Regions from separate parts of the Homo sapiens genome. Here regions 2, 3 and 4 are each linked to region 1. The links are contacts of gene promoters, found by promoter capture Hi-C in human tissues and cell types (Jung and others, 2019). All regions are on one chromosome and are shown on one strand. Each heading gives the region's core, a stretch centred on a gene start or on the middle of the fragment in contact. The rest is flanking DNA. Distances are from core to core; before and after follow the strand shown.

Region 1 (6,494 bases), core at 1,438-3,937:
CTCTCAAGTAAACATTTATAAAAAGACAGGAATATTTATAGATCCTAATACTGTACCTGTAATTGTTCCATGCTGCAACTAAAACTAATCTCTGGATAGGATGGGGAATCAGTGTTCTAGGGCAGGAAAAAAAACACGCAACAAGAAACGCTGTTTATTTAAATCAATGAAATTATAAATTTCATTATTGGATAAGACTTATCTATAAATACCTGTACACTTAAGGTCACCAAATATGCAGGTCTGTACATCCTATGAAGTTGATTGGTCTAAAATAACACAACAAACACGCAACAGCTTTTAACTCTAGGTTTTAAGAAGTTCCCTAAATCCCCCGCTAGAGAAGTTTCTTAAACTTTACCTTTATCTGATATTCCAAGCGCCAAGAAACATCCGTTATATGAGGGAGAGATCTGCCTATACTGAAAGATGCAATGATAACTTCGTACATAGTCTCCTCAGAAGAACTTTTCAGTTATTTATATTTACTAAGAATGGCTCTACTTTCCACCCCCAACTCCATTTTAATCCATTCTGAATTTAAACCATTGTTAAACTTTATTTTTAAATTATGAATGGTAAAGGAGCATTTCAAAATCATCTCAATAAACGATCTTTAAAAACATGAGCTTAACTTCAATTGCTTGACATGCCCTTTGGCTCCTTTTCTTTGGGTCAAGATCCCGAAGATCTTGTTTCACACCAACACTCTCCATTCATACCTGCAAGTGAAAAGTGCCTCAGCTTGACACCTTATACAGTACCTACCTTCCCAGTAGGATTTCTAGGGAATTCTTATTATTCTGGAGAGAAAAAAGAAAGCAAGAAAGAAAGAAAAAAAAACATCTTTACAAACAAAGTAAAAGAAAAATAGTACTGTTAATTAAAAATTTTAAAGTAAGTAACCTGATATTCCGTGCAAAACAGTTCTATTCGCTCTCTGTCAAATTTACAGTCTTCTAGATAAGTGCTAGAAGAAAGAAAAAAAAAGCCAAAGTTCTGTCTCCATTTTTAAAACTGAAATTGAAATCATTAAGGTAGTATTTGAAAATAAATGGATATTTAAATAAATCCTGTACCTTAGAGTTGACTTGTCAGCTCGGTGCTTTCCTGCCTCTAGTATGTAAGTTGCAGCTGCTGCATGACAATGTTTTAAAACCACTGGGTCGATATGTTTCAAGTCTGGATGATCTAAAATAAATTAACTTCCAGTGATGCCTATGATAATAAATTCTTTACAGTCATGTTCCAAAAAGGATATTTTAATTTGGGTTTAAAAACCCTTTAACAAGATTAAAAACATCAACTATAAGGACAGTCAATTATAAGTAAATGAGATGAGCAACAAGATCAAGTGAAAAACAATAAAAAGAACACAACAAGAACTCTACTATTACTAGCTTCAATTAACTTATTTTGCCTTAATATTTTTACTATTAAAAAATATTATAGCCCCCAAAGAAAATATAACAATGCAATGGTCATTCTAACACTGGAGTAAATTCAAAGGAAAAACAAGATAAATATTTTACATTGTGTCAATTTTAGAATAAACTTCCATCCTAAAAATGATGAGTTTAGGGTAACCGGCTCCATGAACAAATACATCAAGGGGGTAGAAGGTAGGGCATGAGTTCAGAATATAAGATACAAATTTCAAAATTATATTAGTACTTTCAGGGTTTGACAGTCATTTTTTTTTTGAGATTAACCCAGGTGGTGGTTACTATTTTCGTTTAAGAACTTCCACTTTCATACTTTTTGTACAAGTGTTTAGTTCATGAAACTACAGAAAAAAAACAAAAATTTGAATTGTTGGGATATTTATATTTAAGAAAATCATCTAAAAGCGATCGGTCTTAAAATATGTCTTCAATCCATACTGACACTGCACCTCCGCAGTCACTGACCGGATCGCTTAAAAGACACTCGCATCCTGGTAACTGGGGCGGAACAAAGTATTGTGCATCATAGTTTAAGGTTCTAGGCGTAGAACCTGTGTAAACATGCTGAACTAGAGCGCTGGAGTGATCATAGCAACTTGAGGTATGCTCTAAGTTGGCAAATGTCAACACTGTCTGACCTAGTAATTACTTCGGAAACAGACCCTTAAACCTTTGCTAGCCTAGCCCTGGAAGCTTGAATTGCAGGGAGCTCCCCAGATGAAGTCCAACTGTCAAAACAGCCGCAGCCTCAGACAAGGCTAAACACCTTAGATGTTTAGGCCACAAACAAGACTTGAACACCGGCTTTACAAAAGAACAAAGAGACTGGGAGGGAAACCGGGCCAGGAACGTGGAGTTGGCTCTATGCAGGTGCCAAGTGGGGCCAAAACAATGCTCAGAGTCTGCTCCGAGTCCTGGCAGAGCCACGTCCCCAACACTCCGTCCGGAGCGAAGGGCAAAGCCCGGAGACTTCCTCTTCCCGGGGCTTTCCCCTTCTCGCTCCGCCGGCTCCTCTTCTCCGAGCGCCCCTCCACCCCGGCGGATCCAGCTCCGAGCCGAGCCGAGCGGCTTACCTAACACGGCCTCGTCCGCCTGGGCGTCCAGCAGACTCTGGAATGCCGCCCGGAGGAGAAGCGTGAAGGCGTTGGAGTCGAAGGAGCGGGGATCCGCCAGCATCTGGAAGCCTTTCTGCACAGACTCCGAGAGCTCCATTGTGAGCGCGCCGTGACCTTCGACACGCACACCACGTGACACGCGCCGCGCGCTCAGCTGATGCGGCCGCGCGCGCACGCGGCTCGGGGCGGCTGGCGGCGGCGCGGGCTGCGGGGCCTCCCCGCCCGCCTCCGCGCCCGCGCGCGGGTCCCGCGCCCCCAGCCGCCGCCTACGGCCTCCCACCGTTTCCGTCCAGCTCTCGCTTGTCCAGCGCAGGCCGCGGGAGCTGCCGAGCCTTGGCGAGAAGGGCGGCCTCGGGCGTTTTGTGGACGCGCTCGGCGCTTTCTCCTTGGTTCGGCGCTTACCTCGGACGGCCACCAGCTCGGTTCCCTGAGAGACCCCGGGGAGACTGCGGACGGTGTCGGGATCCCGGCCCCCGCCTCCCGCAAACGGCGTCCTCCCCGCTCCTCGCTCTGCGCGAATCCTGCGGGAAGCTCCGATCTCAGGCAACTGGATTTTGCTTTTGTGGTTTTTTGTTTGTTTTGTTTGTTTTTTAGCTCACCAGCTTAACCTCGCAGCACTGCCCTTTTATGAGACTGTAAGACATCTAATTATGTGATTCTTGCTTATTTTTACTTTTTTTTTTTTGTCATTTCTGGAATACGGCAGTAGTGTCCTTCCTGCATGGGGGGTGTGTACACATGCACGCATACATAGAGTTCCTGTATGCACTGCACTCCAGCAATCGGATTAATAAATTATTCATGAACAGATTTGACAGGATTATTAACAATTTTATATGCCGCTGCAAATAAAGCCAACTGCCATACACATTTTGTGCTACTCACCACATCTATGGGTCCCGTTTTAGTTGCTCTATAGAATCTGCATAAATACGTTTTTATTAAACAGCTACCTTAGTAAAGTACAGTTAGGAATGGCAAGATCTTTATTAGAAGTGAGTTACTGTTTAGGATGCTCATACCTTTAAAGATTCAAATACTGTATAAAGTTTAACTTCCTCTCTATTTCTACGAAGTTGGTTTAGAGAACAAGAATGATTCTTTAAAAAACCCGTGAAGCAAAGTAGATTAGGTATTTTTAATCAAAAGCACTTGAAAAGTTAAAAAATGCAAGTTCTTGAAGGGTGGAGGGAAGGGATGCGGAACAACAAAGATGTTTTAGTCTTCAGGAGCGATTATTTGCAACATTAGACCCAAAGTGAAACATTATTTTCTTTTTCTAACTTAGATGTCTGTTTTAAAAATTTTTGATGGATACAGTTGACATTTACCTTGGCACCAATACATAAAGTGTACCTCATTTCACAACAGGATGCAAATGGAGTAAGCATCAGTAACAGATTGAGTAACTACTCAGCCCTCCTTTGAAAGCTTTAAAAGGCACGTGCAGTGGCTCCTCACTCGGTGAGAATATAGTAGCAGTGAAGGATTTAAAAGTCTCCCTAGAGTCTTTATGAAACAAGCACCTATTAATCATGTTCATCTTTTCTTCCCATCACTCATCTTCCTAATTTGTTTCTCATTAGTAGTAAAATGTCAGTTGAAAAACTTCATGATACCTGATTACATAGAGAATAGTCAGGACAGAGTTGTGTAAATGTTCAACAATATTAACAACACCCAAGCTTATTATGTTTATTACACATGTATTTTATGACCTAGTGTAACGTTGATTATTAATACTCTAATAGAATTTGAGTTGATAACTCTAATACTCAATTTAGTGTCAAAAAAGAGAGTATTAATCATGGACATAGATTTTAAAATATTATTTTAAAAGAAAAATAAACACAAGTGGTTGTCAATTTGTGGGCATGAAAGTTAGGAAATTCAGAAGGATTGTTTCCATAATAGCTGTCATATTACTTTGTTGCCCATGTATAAGTACTTTCTCTTAGAATGTTTCCTCCTCTTAGGCCTAAGTATATTCATGTGTTAGGCCTAAGTGATGGGCACATTTTAAGCTCACAAAAATTTTCACCATAATGTGTTCTAATGCTAGAAAAACGGAATTTTCCTACTACAGGTATATTTATTTAAACTTCCTTTGAAGGAGGCACAGGATCGAGTGTTTCAAACGTGTGTCTTTGACAAGTCATTGAAATACATGGAAGTATGATCATCAAAAGGCATGACTACCCAGATGTAGACTCTCTTGGTTACAGCCATAAAGATCAATGCATTTTATGTTAGAAAAACTACATATGAACATATTCTGAAAGTATGAAAATACTGTTTAAAATTTTGCTTTACTCAAAACAGCATTGGAACTTTGACTAAACTTTAAAAAATTCTGCATGCTCAAAGCCAGTAAACTAAATTTGGCTTCCCAAAAGCCTTTTAAAAGAACAATTATGTGCAGCTGAAAACAACAAAATACAGATGCAACCATCTTCACATTAACAATATATCTTGCCTCCTAAACTGCAAATATTAGGTAGACAATGCTGATAAATTTATTTTTCTTTTTGAGAATCTAGAAATCATTTGAAGAACTAGAAGTTACCTTTTTAAACAATGTTTTAGAGTTTCAAGTACATTTGATATCCTTTGAACTGGTTAATATTTTTAGAAACAAATTTAATATTGGTCCCTTTATTGTGATTACAATTAAATAGGCTAGGGCTTTTACCGGATCTATGTGGTCAGCTTTTCCCACAGGCCTCATTGCTGCATTTGTTAGTGTTATGAATTACAATATTTTCTTTTTCAGATTGTATAAGTACTTTTGCTTTTGTGCAAATAACGCTGAAGGAAGATATTCCTTTAGATTGAAGAGCTCATGGAACTCCATGGGGAGAAAAAATAATAAGTTTAAGTGCCATCGAGACAAAGACTAGTTTTAACTGGCTTATATATTTATTATATATTCTAGTGGGGATCTGTTTTATCCCTGCCTGCTCATATGCTACAGAGAAGAAAGTTTAGAACACTTTAGAAACTACCTCTAAATAAGAAACCATTCTCTCTGTGTTCCCTAACACCGATGCTTTGATGGTTACTTTAAACTCTGAGATATTTGTTAATGAAAATAGTCTTTACTGTTTTAAAGCTATTTTAACCACAAATGGACAGTTGGAAGGAGTATTTAACTGAGTTATATATGACACTTGAGAGTATAAGTCAAAAACTGTTTCAGTGAAGTTTATAAAACCTGTCTATATTCTTTTATTAAATAACTTGGCAAGGCATAGTTTGTGACTTGGAATTTGAATGGTCAAGTTTTTGCACATTCATGATCACAGAGTTCAGTGGTCTCAAATTGCATCTTATATCACACTGTGAGACACCAAACTGAGTATTCAGAGGGGACAGTAAAGCTTTTATTTTCAATTTAAACATGTAATCCAATCCCTAATTATTTCTAAACAGTCATTGCTGCAATAATTGATATGGACAAATATAACCTTTTCTCACATTGTATAGTTTAATTTGCATATGTGGATTTAAAAATGTGTGAGGGAAATGAAATACAAATTACATTAAATAAACTGTAACCACAGGGTTTAAAATTAATGATACAGTGTTCTCTAAAACAGATAACTTACGCTTATGATTTGGCACAAGTGTTTTGTATTTTTCCCCTAAAACTTTTTTGAATAAATTTATATTAAATGGTAAATAGTACAATTTCTATTTAATATTGTCATCATTTAGTACCATTTTATGTTATTTATTTATTTATCTATTTATTTTAGTAGAGATGGGGGTTTTTCCATGTTGGCCAGGCTGCTCCCGAACTCCTGACCTCAGATGATCCGCCCACCTTGGCCTCCCAAAGTGCTGGGATTACAGGCGTGAGCCACTGCACCCGGCCGGTACCATTTTAAATATTTCATTTTCGTAAGTTTTATCTGGGAAATATAAAACATAA
Region 2 (6,494 bases), core at 2,260-4,759, 450 kb before region 1:
TACTACACAGCCATAATAAAGAATGAAATCATGTCCTTTGCAGCAACATGGATGGAGCTGGAAGCCATTATCCTAAGTGAATTAATGTGGAAACCGAAAATCAAATACCATGTCTTCTTACTTGTAAGTGGGAGCTGGCTGGGCAAGGTGGCTCACACTGTAATCTCAGCACTTTGGGAGGCCAAGGTGGGAGAACTGTTTGAGGCCAGGAGTTTGAGACTAGCTTGAGCAACATAGCAAGACAAAAAAAAAAAAACCCAAAAAAATTTTCCAGGCATGGTGGTGCACGCCTATGATCCCAGCTGCTTGGGAGGCTAAGGCAGGAGGAGCGCTTGTGCTCAGGAGGTTGCATTGAGCTATGATGGCGCCACCTTGCTCTAATCTGGGTGGCACAGTAAGATACCGTCTCTAAAAGATAAAATAAATAAGTGGGAGCTAAAGATTGGGTACAAATGGACATAAAGATGGGAATGATAGACATTGGAGACTCCAAAAGCGTGGCAGAAGGGGTGAGGACAAGGGCTGAAAAGCTACCTATTGGGTACTATGTTCACTATGTGGTTGACCGGTTCATTTGAAGCCCAGACTTCACCATTACACAATATGTACACATAACAAATCTGCACATGTACCCCATGAATGTAAATTTTTTTATTTTTATTTTTAGTTCTGGGGTACATGTGGAGGATGTCCAGGCTTGTTACATAGACAGACGTGTGCCATAGTGGTTTGCTGCACCTATCAACATATCAACTTGGTATTAAGCCCAATATGCATTATCTATTTTTTCTAATACTCTTCCTCCCCCCTCCCCATCCCCCGACAGGCCCCAGTGTGTGTTGTTCCCCTCCCTACGACAGTGTGGTCTCCTTGTTCAGCTCCCACTTATAAGTGAGAACATGCGGTGTTTGGTTTTCTGTTCTTGCGTAAGTTTGCTGAGGATAATGGCTTCCAGTTTCATCCATGTCCCTGCAAAGAACAAGATCTCATTCCTTTTTATGGCTGTGTAGTATTCCATTGTGTATATTTACCACATTTTCTTTATCCAGTCTATCACTGGTGGGCATTTGGGTTGATTCCATGCCCTTGTTATTGTGAATAGTGCTGCAATGAACATACGCATGCATGTATCTTTGTAATAGAATGATTTATATTCCTTATATACCCAGTAATGGGATTGCTGGGTCAAATGGTATTTCTGGTTCTAGATCTTTGATGAATCACCACATCATTTTCCACAATGGCTGAACTAATTTACATTGCCACCAACAGTGTAAAAGCGTTCCTATTTCTCTGCAACCTTGCCAGCATCTGTTGTTTCTTGACTTTTTAATAATGGCCATTCTGAGCTTTTTTTTCATATGTTTGTTGGCTGCATAAATGTCTTCTTTTCAGAAATGTCTGTTCATGTCCTTTGCCCACTTTTTTTTTTTTTTTTTTTTTTTGAGACGGAGTCTCGCTGTCGCCCAGGCTGGAGTGCAGTGGCGCAGTCTCGGCTCACTGCAAGCTCCGCCTCCCGGGTTCACGCCATTCTCCTGCCTCAGCCTCCTGAGTAGCTGGGACTACAGGCGCCCGCCACCACGCCCGGCTAATTTTTTTGTATTTTTAGTAGAGACGGGGTTTCACTGTGTTAGCCAGGACGGTTTCGATCTCCTGACCTCGTGATCTGCCCGCCTCGGCCTCCCAAAGTGCTGGGATTACAGGCGTGAGCCACCGTGCCCGGTCCACGTTTGCCCTTTTTAATGGGTTTTTTTTTTTTTCTTGTAAATTTGTTTGAGTTCCTTGTAGTGAATCTAAATATTTTTAAAGGAAATTTTTAATAAGTCCCCACCCCCAACCAAGAAAAAGAAGCTATGTCTATATGGTCACCAAGGATGTCGAGGTTCTCAATCAAACACTTCTCTGTCTTCATGTAATTTCTCAGTTGTGATAGAAATTTCTGACCCCTCTCTCCCTCTGAAAATAATTCTTTCCCTCGGCTTTCCTCACCTCTCTGTTTTCTGTGTCTCTTTCTATATTGCAGGTTGCTTCCTCTCAGTCTCCTTGATTCTTCTTTTTCTGCCTACCCTTAAATTTTCCTTCTGCCCCACTCTCTGACTCCCAGTCCAATCCTTAGCATTCTTTTCTCTTTCTACAGTTTTCCTAGGGAGACTCATTCACCCACAATTATTTTTTTTCCAGCACAGATCTTTCTGTTGAGTTCAACATTCATATAATCATGTTCCCTCACAACCCCAGGTTTTAGATGTAGACCTGTATTATAGCACTTCTCTTTCATCTTTCTATTCTTAGCACTTGGCACAGAGTAAGTGCTCAATAAATATTTTTATAAGAGAATCTAGGTAAACCAGACTAGAGGATGTTTTGGCAAGTCAGGCCAAACAGATGATGCTATAAACTATAAAACCTTCTACAGAAGGAACTGGACTCAAAAAACAGAATAGGTTAGCCTTGAAGACCAATAAGATACGGTTATGGGGGCAAGACTCAAATATAACTCTTAGGCATCTGTCAAATGCCACTGGGTATAATGTGTGCAAAGAGAAAAGGTTGGCCTTTTCCTTTGGTTAATTTACCAGGTAATTGCCAACATTTTCTTTTCTTTTGCTTTGTGCTGCATGGAAACATTCTGCCATGCAAAATAGAACCAAGGGAGGAGGATGTTCTCCATATGCCATTATTTAACTCTGCCATTTTACCAGCCTATAAGCTCCATGGGAACAGAAGCCCTGTTTCTTTTGTTCTAGTGCCTAGCCTATATTTTGGGCACACAACGAATAAGGATTATCTTTAATTGAATACCTTCTTCTGTACCATATGCTTTGTGTATATTTTCTCCTTTAATACTCACCAAAAAAGAGGGTCATTTTAGGGCTGAGGATGCCAATGCTTAGAAAGGTTAAGTGGCTTGCTCAAGTTTGGGGTACAAATAGCTAAGTCAGTAGTTAAACCTAGATTGCTCTGATCCAAAGGCTTCCCTTTAATAAAATACTATATGATCTTCCTATATGTGGTTAAAATTTCCAGGAAAGCTGGCTTCTGTAGCACATGCCTGTAGTCCCTGCTACTCAGGAGGCTGAGCTGGGAGGATTGCTCGGCTCAGGATTTCTAGGCTAGACTGGGCAACATAGCAAGACCCTATCTCTAAAAGAAATAAATAAATGTATATTTTAAAATTCTGATGATAGAATGAAAGAACACAAGAATATTCACATTTGGGGATATATTTTGATGTGTTTCATTGAAAGGTGTTTTTCCTTCATGAACTGTTATATGTATAAATATTACCATTTAAAATGAAATGCTTTTATGTCTAAGGTCTTTAAGCTCTTAATCAAATTATTGAAATGTTATTTGACATTTTAAAAAATACATAGATGGAGTAGATTCTTCATAATTTTATGTGTGTTACTGTTTCCTATGGTTTGAATATTTTCCCCAAATTTCATGTGCTGGAATCTTAGTCCTCAAATTCATATGTTGGTGGTATTTGGAGGCGAGGCCTTTGGGAGGTAATTAGGATTAGATAAGGTCACCGTGAATCCCTCATGATGGGACTGATGTCTTTATAAGGAGACGAAGAGAGACCTGAGCTAAGATGCTTGCTCTGTCTCACCATGTAATGCCCTCTGCCACATTATGATGCAGCAGGAAGGCCCTCACGAGATGCAGCTGCTTGATCTTGGACTTCCCAGCCTCCAGAACTGTAAGAAATACATTTCTTTTTTAAAAATAAATTACACAGTCTGTGGTATTCTGTTACAGCAATGCAAAATGGACTAAGACACTATTGTTGTTATTGTTACTGTTGCTTCTTAGGGAAAAGAGATTGTTGGTTATGAACAAAACTGCTACTTCCTTTCTTGGTGAGACTCTAGAAGTAAAATAACTTTCTATATGTGTCCTAAATCAGGAGGCCTCAGAGTAGAGAAAATTTGGAGGGGCTTTCTGCAACTGAAAAAGAAAAGAGAAATGAAGACAGGCACCCGGTAGAAAATTTTAAGATTCTGAAAACACAACAGGAGAAAATTGAGGATAGGGAAGAAGAGGTGAGAAAGAGATGCCATACAGCGGAAGTGTAGCTAGCAGTGACCGAGAAGGAGGTGAGAAGGGACTACTCATTCTCCAGGAGTGTGTTCTCAGAAGCAGTGCTGCCTTCTTGGCAAACCTTAAGTTAATGAATTGTCTTGACAGTTAAGAATATGATGAGAAGGTATTAAAGGCAGAGGTGAAACAGCAAGCCTGACCATGAGAAGAGAGTCCAAAAGTCCAAACTCTTTGCATGCTTGTTCCTCTGTCAACCAATGGCCCAGATTCTACTCCCAGTCCACTCTGGACCAGCCCAGACTTGACTTCATCTTATACACACACACACACACACACACACACAGCCCCAAGGCATTGCTGAGTGAAACCCCAGCCACAGCAGCCACATCAGTCCCCCAGACAATGGCCAAGAAGCCAATGGAAAAATTTAGTGCCCTCCTATTGGCTCTTTATGTTTCTTACATATGCTGGGAGACAAACTAGAAAAATGAGAAGAATAATGTCTAAGAAAGAGGACACAAGAGAAAAAAATTATATCCTAATAGAGTGAAATTGGACAGCCTTCTAGGCTGTTTCCTTTTTAAACAATCTCCTCTTCTTAAAAAAAAAAAAAGTTGTTTAATGTCCCAGAAAGCTTTTTGAGAAAAGCAGTTTGTCCCCTTTTTCTAAGCCAAAGGCCAAAAATAGGAACTATTTGGCGATCTCTTCTGAGGCAGATCCGGGTATGCCTAGCCTGAGAAAATCCTCCTTGACCATTAACTCAGGGAGCTGTCATGAAGGAATTCTGGGAATCATGATATGCATTTATACACAGAATGTCTAAATGGGAAACAAAGCTTGACCTGGTTTTCTCAGAGCCAGACCACTCTTCTTTTTTCTCTTTTCCCTTAATAGATGACAGGGAGGAAACAGCTTCAAACCACCACTACCTTCCAAATTCCCCATCAACTTGGGTCACCAAAAGGAAGATGGCCAGGTACCTGATAGAATCTGATTTTACAGTATTTTGCCTCTGCTACAGTAGAAACGCCTTCCTTACTCAAAGGACACATTAATTAATAATAGGTAACATTTACTGACTGCTTCCAATGTGCCTGGCACATCTGCTAAGCACTTTACATGCTATCTTCTTTATCTTCACAATAACTCTACAGGGAAGTACTGTGATGATTCTCATTTTACGAATGGCTAAGTTGAGGCTTAGAAAAGTTGGATAATGTGGTTACAGTTAGGAGAAGAAAAAGCTCAATATTAAACCCAGGCAATGGGACTGGAGCCAACACTCTTGACTACCTGGCTCTAAAGTTACAACTCAGTTATGGAGACAGAACAGAAGCCTACAAATATTTAACAACACTTTAACTTTTCTCCCATCTGTTTGCAAATAAAAATAATATTTAGCAATACAATTAGCATATCCTTTATGCCAAATAAATGGAATGAACCACTACTTCTATGGAACACAGGAAAAGGATGCTTTCGGCACAGCAGAGCCTAGGATGCAGGACCTAGGGAGGACTGGCTCTTCAAACAGCAGATTTTATTGGTATTTCCACCATTGGCCTCCGCTGAGAAACAGTATTAAAAACATCTTTGGAAGATTAAAAAGGAAGTAATTTTTTTCAAACACTTCAAGTTGTGATCTACTTGCAAAGCCAGCTATATCAACAAGCGATTGATCCCTGGAAATATATGCAAAGGAGCCCCCTAGTTTGTCTCTGATCCCCTTCCTTCCTACCTCCTAGAGGGACAGGTTCTTTGATTTTAAGGCAACTTCCACTGAGGCCAGGAGTTAGCTGCCTGGGCTGTCAGTTTCTAGCAAAGGGCAGCCCAGAATAAATTTGACTCTTTATGTATCCTAATCTGGAACAGAAAGAGGCAAAGTTCTCCCTGTCTCCTCCCAACTTCACACGCACTTAAAATTGGCATTCCCCCTCTGCAGTTTTTGGCAGACCTTTCAGGAAATATTAAGTTAGACTGAAAATTCAGAGGTCCTCGTAACTGTCTGGGCTACTTTAAAATCTGGCATGTTATGAACACAACCTAAAAGTTGTTAAACATTGTTTCTATTTATTTTAGCAAGATAGCGGCTACCTAGAATCAGAATTGAGAACAATAATAAGCTTTCAAAAAATAATATATTTTTACAGGAGCTAAAATGTCTTACTTGATAGATATATTTAATAGCTACAAAACACCTCGCTCCACACTCATATTGACTTCAAAGAAGGGTCGAAATATTAAAATATGTTATTGCCTCTTTCTTGGCCTCCCACACAGAATGTAGGACTTGACTACAGCACTGTTGGCCAAGACAAAAGACTTCTGTACCACCTAACATAGCAACTGCAATGGTCTAGGCTGCAAATATGTTCTTCCTCTTTGGGTGCCCATTTAGCCTGTCTTCAGAGGTCAGATTTGGAACAAAAGAAAAGGAAGTGAGAGAA
Region 3 (6,494 bases), core at 2,503-5,002, 290 kb before region 1:
ATGCTTTGAGTATTCTTACTTATATATTGCTTTGAGTATTCTGCTTTTTTTTGTTTTTTTTTTGTTGTTGTTGTTTGTTTTTTGTTTAACAGACATGGATCCACTCTGTCACCCAGGCTGGAGTGCAGTGGTACAATCACAGCTCACTGCAGCCTTGAAATCCTGGATACAAGTGATCTTCCTTCATCAGCCTCCTAAGTAGCTGGGACTACAGGTGCACACCACCACGCCCAGCTAACTTTTGTTATTTTTTTATTTGTTAGAGACGAATTCTGTTGCCTAGGCTGGTCTCAAAGTCCTGGGCTCAAGCAGTCCTCCTGCCTCAGCCTCCCAAATTGCTGGGATTACATATATGAGCTGCTGTGCCCAACTGTATCTACAGATTTATAACGTGCATTAATTGTGGAAAATTCTGAATCATTATTTTTTCAAATATAATCATCTTTTGTTCATCTTCTATTTCTGTATAATTTCTCACAGCTTAAAAAATTCTATATCTGATCATCTTAGTAACTAAAGTCTTGAAAATATTAATTAGTCGTTGCTGTCTCTGTGAGCTCATGTTTGATTGATCTTCATCTGTGGGAAGCCTGGAGGCCTGGCAGGGGTTGCTCTCCTCCGGAGATCATTTACATTTACTTCCACCAGGTGTTGGGGCCACTTTCAAAGGCTTCCTTCAAGGATCTCAGGTTAACGTTGAAGCCTTTGTTGAGCTCCCAGCTTTCGTTTGGCCCAAGTAAGTGTTGAAACTGGCATTTGTCCTCGGAGTCCCTCCTTTCAGGCTTGCTTAATGGTCCCCACACTCCCTGTGGATTAAACTCACTTTGGGGGAAGAAAGGTGTCTTGGAGATTGCCTCTACTGTCTGTGAACCCAGCAATGTGATTAAAAAAAACAAATAGCTCTATCAAGCAGCTCATTCTTTTGTTGTTTGCTTGTTTTGTTTTTGTAACTGAGAATCCTTCAGCGTACCTGCCTTCTATCCTACTGGAAGCATAAATCTTTGACATGGTTTTTATTGCTAGCAACAAGGAAAGTCAACATGCAAAAATAGTTAACGAAGAGAAAGTTCAGGTTTTTCAAAATTGTGTCCAAAGCTGTCCCTTTCATTCACTGGAACTTGATCTTACCCTTTGTCCTTTGGAAACACATCTTTGCTTTTGTTCTTGACTCATGTCCAACCCACCTCCTTCTCTTGTAGTCCTGGGACCACGTGTCTTCTTCCTTCCCTGAATGGAGGTTCTTCTTTTGGTAAATTCATGCCCCACCCCAATCTTTATTTTTAAACTTAGTTCCTGTAAGGGAAGTAAAGAGCACACAGATGAGTTCAATATATAAATCACGTCCATTAATCCAACAAATATTTACGTGAAAAATTTAAAAGCTTTCTTTCTCAGATAACATTTTCTTTACAGAAGGAAGTTGTCCTGGACATGTGACCAAAGGGTCTGTGGGATGAGGTTGTGGAGGGAAGGTAGGGAGAGTGGATGGGCAAGAAGCAGGGACAGGTGGCATGAGGATTGACTCTCCCTCACCACTGCCGTCCGGTGGCCACCATGGACCCAGCATCAGACAGACATAAGAAGTGGGAATGAGGAAGGCAGGAAGAGAGATTATGATGGCAGAGGGAAGGAGGGTGGGTTGGTGGGTGGGAAGAGAAGTTCCTGTGTCCACCATGTTTTTTTTCCCAAGGTACACATTCAAGTCAAGTCCTCCTCACCTGGATAGTAATAACCCATGCTATTTATTTTATATTTTTCCAGATCAATGAACTGAGCCATGTTCAAATCCCTGTTATGTTGATGCCAGATGACTTCAAAGCCTATTCAAAAATAAAGGTGGACAATCACCTTTTTAACAAGTAAGTACAAGTATGACCTTTCATAAGACTAGCGTGGCTGCTAGGAGTACAAGTTTTGTGAATTTTTGTAATCACATAATTTGTCAATGGGTGGGAGTAAAGTTTTGCTGATGAAGTTAATCCTGTGATAAACATAACCATCTGTCATTTTTAGAGAAGCAACAGCAGGCTCTCTGGGATAATATCCTTTGCCATATGGCATATTGTTCTCTATGAATATCTTATACGTTGAAAGTGATATTCTCATTATAATTCAAATTTTTGAAGCTGTAAATTGCTTGGATTTTTGAGCAGTTATGAACCTCTGCTCTTGTACACAGAACTTTGAAAATGATGATTTATGAACAGCAATGACTCCATCTTAGAACAATAAAGACCCAAGGTACATTTTCATAAGGCACAATTAGATGCCATGTTGGGCATTGATAACATTCCTCCTTCATTTGAATGTTGTTTTAGACGTCATTATGAAGCACCTATTATATGTTAGGTGGTCCATTGAGAGCTAGAGATGCAATGATATAGAAGACACGGCCCTGCCCTCAAGGGGCTCAGAGTACAAAAACTGACACATATACAAACTGCTATAGTTCAGTGTGCAAAGTATGATAAGGGAGGGGTGTGTGCATATGTATAATTTAATTTATCTGGTTGTGTGGGAACACAAAGAGGGAAACAATTCTGAATGATTAGGGTGAACCTCAAATCACTCCCATGTGAGGATCATTATGAAATTTTTTTTTGAGACAGGATCTTGCTCTGTTGCTCAGGCTGGTGTGCAGTGGTGAAATTATATCTCACTGCAGTCTCAAATTCCTGGGGTCAAGCAATCCCCCTTCCTGAGCCTTCTGAATAGCTGGGACTACGGGTGCAGGTTACCATGCCCAGCTGATTTTTTAAAAAACTTTTTGTAAAGACAGGGGTCTCACTATGTTCCCCAGGCTGGCCTCAAACTCCTGGCCTCAAGAAATCCTCCCACCTCAGTCTCCCAAAGTGCTGGGATTACAAATGAGTGGTGTAAGCCACCATGCCAGGCCAATTATGAAATTTCTTCAGGGGGCCATTGTCCTTATGTGAAGCTGATGTTAATTTTTCTCATAACAGTGTTTAGAAGCTGACTTTCAGGGAATTTCCTCTAAGCAAATTTAGAATGTGGCATTTATATAAAACAGGCCTTTTAGGGGGGTGAGGGAGTGGCCCTCCTTTCCTCAGCAGTAGCTGAGAGGGAACCTTGCTCCGCTGCCTCTTCCTAACTCACTCTCCCGCCATTGTGCTTTTCCCTCACTGCTCCCCCTGCCTGGCCCGTTCCTTCCCCACCTCTTGTTCTTTGAGGAATGGCTGCAGTGTGTGGCCAGGATTTAAAGAGGTCACATAGTCCAAGCGTGCCTGTGACAAAGGAGACAGACAGACATCCGTCTGGCCCCCTGTGTCTCCTGGATCTTTCTGCGGGTTGTACCTGGTTCTAGGAAGCACACCTGTGCTTTTGGTAGGCAGTGAACTCTGAACCCTTCTTTGGCTACCTGTGGAACTCAGTGGTGGCAGATGCAAGTCTGATTGACTCTCTCTGAGCTTTATTCCACGCTGTGACTGTTTCAGAGAAAACATGCCGAGCCATTTCAAGTTTAAGGAATACTGCCCGATGGTCTTCCGTAACCTGCGGGAGAGGTTTGGAATTGATGATCAAGATTTCCAGGTGAGTTGCGTTTGTAACATTTGCTTCCAGTAGGAAATGGGTTTTGCCATGACTTTTGCTGTGTCAATTGGGATCTGTATTTTTGTCAATAAAAGTATTATATAATAGTAATTTTCATTTTGTGTAAGAAGTTTTTAATGTTCATGCTGAAGTAAAGTGTTCTCTTGATTGGGGACCTCTATACATATGATACCGGTATAAAAGTCAGTAGGAAAATATATTACTTTTCTTTGGAAGGAGACTGAGCATGTGAGGGTTTTATATAATACTCTCATTTCCAGGTGGAAATTAACAGGCTAGCAGAGCTGCCTGTTAATTTCTGCTGTCAGACATGTCAGTAGCCTGTGTGAGTGTGCATGTTTTGTATCTTCGTAGAGGCTACTTAGGACTCTCAGGAATCTTTATCTTGCTGATTTGCTGCTTTTCAAGTTGGTCAGACTCTTGCTGCAGCATTTTTGTCAAAGGGCACCCTTTGTGCACTGCAGTGCTGGACTGTGGAGTGACCATAGCACTGTGGTCAGCACCAGGAACCCAACATCCTGGGCGTGTCCTGTGGTACATCTTCCTCTTCATCTTGATTCCCACCACGTAAAAATGTGCACTGCTGCTCTCCTCCCCACACTGGCCTGGTCCTTCATTCTAACTTTTAAACATCTGTTTTAACTCTTTAAATAACTGTTGAGCCATGATCATTTTTTTCTGAGAAAGGATTTGACATTGGTTACCCAAGTTTCATATAGCGAGCCAGATTCGTAAATGCTAAGGATTTTTTTTAAAAGTGGAAATCCAAGGGACAGGTTGAGTATCCCAATCAGAAAATCTGAAATCCAAAATGCTTCCAAATCGAATATTTTCTGATCATCAACGTGATGCCACAAGTGGAAAATTCCACAGTTAAGTGCTCAACACAGCCTTTGTTTCATGTACACAATTATTTAAAATATTGTATAAAATTACCTTTAGGCTATGTGTATAAGGTGTATATGAAATAGATAAATTTCGTGTTTAGACTTGGGTCCCATCCCCAAGATATCTCATTATCTTTGCAAATATTCTGAAATCTGAAAAAATCTGAAATACGACTGGCTGCAGGCATTTCAAATAAAGGATGCTCAGCATATACTGACTTAAGTCCCTTCAAATCTAGTCCTAATCTGCCCTCAATTTAAGATCTGAATTTATCCTGCATTAAGTGACATATTGCCACCCTGGGTGACTACAGATTGAGTACTGATACAGCTTACCCTGTATTTTCCTCTGAAGAATAGGGTCCCTCAGGCAAACTGAGATAGTTAGCACACTTTCCTAAAGATCTGTGCTCCCACTGCCCTCTCTGTACCATTGCCAAAAATTTCCAGGAATTTTTCATATGTTTACTCAGGCATGAGAGAGGCTGCCATGTTTGGAGAAAGCAGCGCTGACCAGGCTGCCGGTGACATTGTCTCATGATGGCCTGGGGTTGTGGTTTACATGGAGGTCCAGACCCTGAGCTGAGGCTCTGTGTACACAGAAGAGCTGAGGGCTGGCTAGTGGGACAGGAAGGATGTGGTTGCTCATCTGCTATTAAAACTGCGTGGGAGCCAACACTCCTGTTAGGGCGTTTCTTTTTTTTTCTTGATACAAGGTCTTGCTCTGTTGCCCAGGCTGGAGTACAGTGGTGTGATCATAGCTCACTGCAGCCTCAAACTGCTGGGCTCAAGTGATCCTCCGACCTCAGCGTCCAGAGTAGCTAGGACTACAGGTGTGCACCACCATGCCCAGCTAATTTTTTTTTTTTTTTTGGTAGAGATTGGGGTCTCACTATGTTACCCAGGCTGGTCTCAAACTCCTGGCCTCAAGCCGTCCTCCCAGAGCATGAGCCAGTGCACCTGGCCTTGGGGCTTAATTTTTAAGAGAGAACTTAGATCACAATTATGGACTTGAAATTTACTGCTGTAAAAATAATTAACTTTAACAGAAAATTATTAGAATAGTAAAAAGCATTTCTCTGAAGTTAAAATTAATAATTCTGTATCACTTTAGAACCATTACTAAATTTAAAGAGGCCACCTGAAAATGAACTAGGTGCTTTTTTTTTTTTTTTAAAGGAATTAACAGCAGATAGCTTCAGTGTCTTAAGAAAATCTCCTCTGCCTTAAGAAAAGCTGAACACCAGTGTGTTCCTCCTTCTCTCCACGTCCTTTTTTTGTTTGGCTGGGTTTTGTTTTAATAAAACAATTCCACTGGCATTTCACAGAAACTGACTTTTGAGGGCCCATGCATCTATCTTATCTTGTTAGATTCCTCAATTCATTATTGAAATGAAGTCTTTCTATTTCTTGTCATAATCAATTCTGTCAAATGAGATCCAAAATGAACCCATTATGGTCTGAGTTCTGCACTGCAGCAGAGAAAAGTAGTTTTTAAAATTTCCTCAAATGACCAATTTAGTTGCTGAAATGCAAAGACATGAACTGGTTTTCCTTCCCTTTTTTTCGCCCTACAAAGAAAACTACGTAAGTTGATATTGAAGTCAGTACAAATTGCTGAGTACAAACTTTGAAAGAAAATTAGGCAAGTGGAGGATGATTCACAAGTAACTAATTGGCAAGTCCGTTAAACTCTTCACATGAGAGCTCCCTGTTGGGGAGAGTGGTGTGAGTGTGATTAATCATTCGAACACTCCTCCTTTCCTTAGCTCTGCCTGCTGCTTTCTCTTTGGCAACTGTATTTCTATTAAAAAAAGAAAAAAAAGAAAGAAAAAGTGTGTATTCAGAGTCACTTCAGTACTGCAGAGGTATACTCTTCTTCCCTCCTCAGTCGTATATTTCTTTCCCAGTGTCTGTACCTCTTAAAATTCTTCAGTAGGGTCAGGGACCCTGAGTTCCAGCTGAAAACAGGATCGTAAATCTGGGGCTGTATCCCAGTCTTTTGGCTACTTGGTTTGGAAGAAAGGAGGGTCG
Region 4 (6,494 bases), core at 2,078-4,577, 270 kb after region 1:
TTTTTTTACTGTTGAAAGATAATACCCTTAGAAAAAAGTGCATAGCTCCTATATGTATGATTTAAATAATAATTAGAAAACAAATACCTGAGCCAGATGTGGTGGCTCACCCCTGTAATCTCATCATTTTGGGAGGCTGATGCAGATAGATTGCCTGAACCTAAGTGTTTCAGATGAGGCTAGGCAATATAGTGAGACTCTATCTCTATTAAAACATAAAATAAAATAAAATAGGTAGGCACAGTGGCGTGTGCCTGTGGCCTGGCTATTTGGAAGGCTGAAGGGCTGAGGTGGGAGGATCACTTGAGCCTAGGACGTCAAGGCTGCAGTGAGCCATGATCACACCACGGCACTCCAATCTGGGTGACAGAGGGAGAGCCTGTCTCAGGAAAAAAAAAAAAAGGAAAACAAGCACCTGTGTAATTACTGGTCGGGTCAAGATTCAGAACAGTGTCTTAAGTTTAGAAGCTGCCTGTGAGCCATAACACCTGCCTCCTACTTCCATGTGCATCACTATCCTGACGCACGTGATGGCCAATTCCTTGCTTGTCTTTATGGTTTGCCACCTATGTATGAATCTGTAAACAACATAGTTTATTTTCACCTACTTTTGATTTCTTTTCATTTATGATTGTTGCATGAGGCTTTAGTTTGTTCATTTTCATTGCTTTTAAGGGCATTTTCTTTCATTCTTGTTTGCAAAATTTTTAAATAAATTACCAATGCATGCTGAATTTCATCAAACACTTTTGTATGTTTGCTGAGATGACCATATAAATTTTTCCTTTAATGTGGCGGAATTCATTAGTTGATTTTTCTCATGTCAAACCAGGTTTTCATTCCTGGAACAAATACAAGTTAGTTATTGTATATATTAGTTATCTATTGCTCCAAAACAAGTTACTCCAAAATGCAACAGCTTAAATAACAAGTATTTATTATCTCATGCAGCTTCTGTGGGTCAGGAATCCAGAAGGTCTCACGTAAGGTTTCAAGTCAAGATGTCAGCCATTGCTGCAGTTCCAAGCTCATCAACATGGCAGTTGGCAGGAGGCTTACACCTCATCATGTGGTCCTCTCAACAGGGCTGCTTATGACATGGCAATTGGTTTCCCCCAGAGTGAATGATCTGAGAGAGAAATTAATAAAGATAGAAGCCACCATGTCTTTAATAACCAAATCTCAGAAGTGACATACCATCATGTCTACTGTATTCTGTTGGTCACGTACCTAATAGAATGTGGGAGGGGATGACCCAGAGGTGGTGAACACTGGGGCCTATTTTAGAGACTGGCTACCACAGTCATATTGCTTTATACTTTTTATGTATTGCTAGATTCAGTTTGCTGATTTTTTTTACAATTTTTTATCTATATTCTTGAGTGACATTGACCTATAATTTTTCTCTCTTGCTATCAACTTTATGCTAACCTTATAAAATGAGACTAGCAGCATTATCTTTTTTTTACTCTCAGAGTTTGTGTATAATATGAGAATAGATCAGAATTATTTGTTCCTTGACTGCCAGAATTCAATGTGAAGCTATCGAAGCCTGAAATTTTCCTTAATTCAATACTTCAAATGTATTGAAAGGCCATTCTGATTTTAGCACCATTCTGTTTTTCTATTTCAATAGTTTGTGTAAATTGTGCTTTGCTAGAATATGTTCATTTCATCTGCATTTTCAAACTTACTGGCATAAAATTGTTCAAATGACTTTTTTTTTAATATTTCTGACTTTTTTAGTAACGTTCTCTTTTTCTTTTTTGATATTATTTATTTGTGTGTTTGTGCTATCACTCTTTTTTTTTTTTTTTTTGGTCTCACGAGAAGTTCGTTAATTTTATTAGGTGTTTTAGAGAATCACTCTGGCTTTATTGTCTCCATAGTGTATGGAAACTATTTAATTAGTTTCTGTTCTTATTTCTATCATGTCCTTCCTTCCACCTTCTTTGTTGCTTTGGGGTTTTGTTTTTGTTTGTTTGTTTGTTTTGCTATTCTTTTTCTATTTTCTTGAATTATTAATTTTTAATAATTAATTTTTAGCTTTTTTCTAATATATGCCTGTAATATACTTTTCCTTTAAATGTTGCTTTAGCTAAATCTCATAAGTTTTGTTAGGTAGTATTTTCATTATTGCTCAGTTCAAACTATTTTTTTAATACCACTGTAATTTCTTATTTAACCCTTGAGATACTTAGATGTGTATTTAATTAATTTCCAAACATATGAAGGTTTTCTTGATGTCTTTTTTTGGTACTGATGTTTAACTTGTATTTTGTTAAGAAATATGCTTATGATTATTTCATTTCTGTGACATTTGTTGACACCTGCTTTACAATCCAGTAAATGGTCAGTTTCTGTGAATGTGCTTATTACATGCAGTATTCAATATATGTTTATTAGATCAAGTTTATTAATCATGATGCTTAAATTATACATATTTTTAGGAATTATTTTCCCATTTGCTCTATCAATTACTGAGTGGCTATATTAAATGCCACATTATGAGTGTGGATTTGTCTATTTCTCTTCATCTGTCAATTGTTAAGGCTAAGTTATTAAGTGCATACAAATTTAAAATTACCAAAGCTACCAGTTGAAATGAACCTTTCATTATTATAAATTATTCCTGTTTATCTTGAGTAACAGAGTTTATCTTCGAGGCTCTTTATTCTAAAAGCAATTTGGTTATCTGGGCCCTCTAATTTTCCAATTATACTACAGGTGAATTCTCCCCTTCCTTCCTTATCAAGGCGCAAGTTGGCATCTTCCCTTCATAATAAGTTTCAGCTTATTATGTTACTTAGTAAAATCATGCTCATCTTTTTCTCCATTTCCCTAAATAATATTGAGCTCCACAGGCCTGATTTTTTGCTTTAAATTACAAGTAAAATTCCAGAGTTGGCTCTTAAAAAAGCAAATCTTCATAATTCACAAAAAGAATCTAAGAGACAGAGGAAGGAAATGTGCTTTCTCCTCTGCAGCTACAGAAGACTGACCGTCTTTGTGTCATAAAACAAGTCCAAAGAATCTGATTCGATGTGGCATTGAGACGTGTGAATATTTATAACTATACTCGCTAGTTCTGTTCTTTAGCCTTATAAATTTATCCTTGGAAGGAAAATATGAACAAAGGCTCTAGAAATCCTTGCCATTTCCTTAAAAGTAATCTCCAAAGAGCCCTGTGATTCTGATGAGTCGTCTTACTCAGTAGCCTGATGCTGTCTTCATGTCATGATTGACGTTTCTGTGTTCCTATATGTTATGAATACTCGTAAGATTGTTCTGTCAAAGCAGCAGAACATTGCTAGCATTTTTTTTCTACCCTCACCTGCATGATAAAAAGAATAAATGCGTGTAATTCTACTAGATGTCTTGTTTAACAGAGAGATTGATAGTCTTATCTCACTTGTGGCTGGGCTTGGGATAGTTCTGGGGTCTGTGTTCTGCCTGCACTAGAGTTTATTCCTCTAGATCGGGTGTACTTCTGTCTGTTCTGATACTTGAGGAAGGGGTGCTAGGGGAAGGGAAAGCCTCTATTTCCTGATTATGCCTCTAATTCAGGTGTTGCTAAACTTTGGCTACTGTCAGAAGCTGTTAGCCTTAAGGGAGTGTTTCCTGTCCACTCTTTATAACCAAAGCTTTTTTCCTCGCTAAGTAAGGGGAAAAGGAAAGGACAAAGGTAGGGCTTCTAGTTCAGGCTAAGGCACTATTTGTGTGGACAACGAAAGACTGGTTTCGTGTGGGACTTTCTATGCACCCAGTATGTTTCCAGCAGTTTTAATTGATTTTTTTCCCATTTTATTTTGTCAAGACTTTTCTTTTTAATGTTTAGGGATAGTTCATATTATACCTCAATTCTTCTCCTATCTTCCTCCCAGCAAGAGAAAAACAAACCGATGTGATTGGCACTGTGTGTGGATTTCGCTGAGTCACCACCACCCTGCCGTGAGGTGCGGATTTCCAGGGCAACTTTCTGTGTCTTTCCTTCTGGGCTGCCTATCCACACCCTGTCACCATCAGCTCTGCTCAACCCCAATGTGGAGGTGTTAACACAGAGGAGAATTTTGTCTCAACACCTTCCCCTTGCTTTTTTCTCTCTCTCACTCTTGCATATGCAAAATCTATCACAGGTCTAGTATTCCAGCACGTAGCAAGCATTCAATAAATCTTTGGTGAATGGGTGACTACAGAAATGATGAACACTATTTCTGAATAAGCAACTGAGGATTTGCCTATTAATTCCTACAACCCTCTGTGTCTGGCAACAGTTTTCCAAGTTCTTAGAGAAGTGTTTGCTCCTCTCTAGTTTGATAACTCTCTGTGTGTACATGCTATTTCTATATCTTATTCATTTATTGAGATGTGAGTGGGAGAAAAGTTCCATGATCTCATAATTTTTCTCTGGAAGTAAAATAATAAACATATACCTTTTATTATAATAAATTATAAAAGAAAATATGGATTGAAAATAATTTAGAACCTTTCTGGAGGGCAATTTGGCAGAATCTAGCCAACCTTTTTTTTGACCTAGTATTTTCACAGTAGGAATTTATCCAAAAGATATACAGGTGAAAAATGGCACAGGAATAGGGTAATTCATTGTAGTATTGTTTGTAATTGCAAAAGATCTGGAAAAAACCATGAATATCCATGAAAAGGAAATTTCTCAGATAAATCCTGATATATCTATACAACTGGATGATACACAGAAGTAAAAAAAAAAAGAGAGAGAGAGAGAGAGAAAGTCCTTTGTAGATTGATATGAAAAATCTCCAAGATTTATGGTTAAGTAAAAAATAATAAGTTGCACAACAGTGTGTATAGTATGCTATAGTTTCTGAAAAAAAGAAAAAGGGAAAACTACATGTATCTGTTTTTACATACACACATTAGCTCTGGAATGATTTGGAAAAATACATGAGAAATATACATTGCTTGTTTCCAGGTGGCAGAACTCCATGCCTAGGTGACTGGGTATGTTTTTTGTAACTTCGAATTTTTGAACCATGTGAATGTATTACCTAATCAAAATTGAAAAGATAGGAAAAAAAAGAAATACACCAAAATGTTAATTATCTTTTGTTGAGTAGCATCTGAGCAACCTTTATTCTCTTTTCATGTTGGTCAATATTTTCCTAACTTTCTACATGCTGTGCGTTACTTTTATAACAAGGAAAGAATTTTAAGAATAAAAATAATCATGCCTGATCATTTATTTACCAGTTGAGTCCCTTTTCCTATGTTCTAAGCATAATTTCTGCTGAGGAATGGAAAGAAAGATTGTGGATTTAAAAGATGTATGCTTGGCTGGGCACGACGGCTCATGCCTGTAATCCCAGCACTTTGGGAGGCCAAGGTGGGCGGATCACGAGATCAGGAGATTGAGACCATCCTGGCTAACATAGTGAAACCCTGCATGGTGGCACTTGCCTGTAGTCCCAGCTACTCCCAAGGCTAAGGCAGAAGAACCACTTGAACCCGGGAGGGAGGAGTTGCAGTGAGCCGAGATCGCGGCACTGCACTCTAGCCTGGTAGACTGGGTGACAGAATGAGACTCCGTCTCAAAAAAAAAAAAAAAAAGATGTATGCTCTTCTACCTTTCTTAACATTGCAAATTAAGAACAGAATACCATCTGTTTTATTTTCTCCCAGCTAAACAATCTAAATCATTCTAATTTTTTGCTTTACTATCTCTAAAGGTAGGTTACAACTATGTATGAAACACAGTACTAAGGCATCTTCACTTTCTTTGTGTCCTCACTTGCCTCAGATCTCCACTTTATTTTGACGAAGTTCTAGACCAAGGAATAATCTAAATATATTCACAATTTTTCCCTTGCACATTAAATCATATGATGATATGTTATTACACCCACATTTTAAAACTTTAAAATTTATGTGAATTTATCTTCTTAGCACTGGGCCATTGTGACTGATTAATATATTTTAATTAATGTGTTTTAATTTTAATTAATGTATTTTAATTATCCTCACATAATAAAATTTGACAAAAAATTATTGTTCTAAGTAACTTAAATCACTTATTTATACAGATACTCCATTTGGCATATGAAGTCTTTGAACTGTAGTTACAGAGGTGACAGTTTAGCCAAATGGCTAGGAGTCCTGCCTTCTTATTTATTTATTTTATTTATTTGTTTATTGGGGAGGGGTACGGGGGCTGGTAAGACAGGGTCTCACTGTGTCGCCCAAGCTGGTCTCAAACTTCTGGCTTCAAGCAATCCTCCCACCTCAACCTCCCAAAGTCCTGAGATTACAGGTGTGAGCCACCATGTCCAGTCTGAGTCCTGCCTTCTTAAGGGAGGCTATGGACAGGCTAGTCCAAGTGGACACATGTAGAAACTTCCTTCCCTCTGAGACCTTGAGAGAGATGAGGGTATAATGCCCAGTGTTGGCAGAGAATTCTGAGGTTCAGAACATCAACATGGTCTCGTCAGTGGTGGAATTACTGCCATAATTAGTAGAAC

The links. Contacts are between HindIII fragments. The study calls those that stand out against the background at their distance.
Region 2: a contact is called between a fragment that was not itself captured here and the fragment with the promoter of COMMD3-BMI1 in region 1, in 2 of the 25 tissues and cell types used here (aorta and lymphoblastoid cells).
Region 3: a fragment that was not itself captured here is called in contact with the fragment with the promoter of COMMD3-BMI1 in region 1 in 2 of the 25 tissues and cell types used here (dorsolateral prefrontal cortex and hippocampus).
Region 4: a contact is called between a fragment that was not itself captured here and the fragment with the promoter of COMMD3-BMI1 in region 1, in 2 of the 25 tissues and cell types used here (heart right ventricle and mesendoderm cells).

Annotation. Positions count from the first base shown.
Region 1 is chr10:22,312,581-22,319,074 of GRCh38, reverse strand. It overlaps COMMD3-BMI1 (COMMD3-BMI1 readthrough), which reads right to left and starts at 2,687. Exons shown (of 14, transcript NM_001204062.2): 1 at 2,519-2,687; 2 at 1,080-1,191; 3 at 907-970; 4 at 769-803; 5 at 57-116. The coding sequence starts at 2,657. COMMD3 (COMM domain containing 3) reads right to left here and starts at 2,687. Exons shown (of 8, transcript NM_012071.4): 1 at 2,519-2,687; 2 at 1,080-1,191; 3 at 907-970; 4 at 769-803; 5 at 362-422; 6 at 213-269; 7 at 57-116. The coding sequence starts at 2,657. RefSeq lists an enhancer at 2,140-2,439 and a silencer at 2,710-2,829. The HindIII fragment of the contact is 4,167 bases long and covers 1-3,065 here.
Region 2 is chr10:22,766,336-22,772,829 of GRCh38, reverse strand. No RefSeq gene overlaps it. Among named protein-coding and RNA genes, the nearest start is that of PIP4K2A, 55 kb to the right of the region's middle. The HindIII fragment of the contact is 4,037 bases long and covers 1,491-5,527 here.
Region 3 is chr10:22,604,985-22,611,478 of GRCh38, reverse strand. It overlaps PIP4K2A (phosphatidylinositol-5-phosphate 4-kinase type 2 alpha), which reads left to right. Exons shown (of 10, transcript NM_005028.5): 2 at 1,762-1,859; 3 at 3,456-3,552. Among named protein-coding and RNA genes, the nearest start is that of PIP4K2A, 110 kb to the left of the region's middle. RefSeq lists enhancers at 400-934, 6,237-6,386. The HindIII fragment of the contact is 6,591 bases long and covers 457-6,494 here.
Region 4 is chr10:22,040,193-22,046,686 of GRCh38, reverse strand. No RefSeq gene overlaps it. Among named protein-coding and RNA genes, the nearest start is that of DNAJC1, 40 kb to the right of the region's middle. RefSeq lists an enhancer at 3,793-4,087. The HindIII fragment of the contact is 9,284 bases long and covers 1-6,494 here.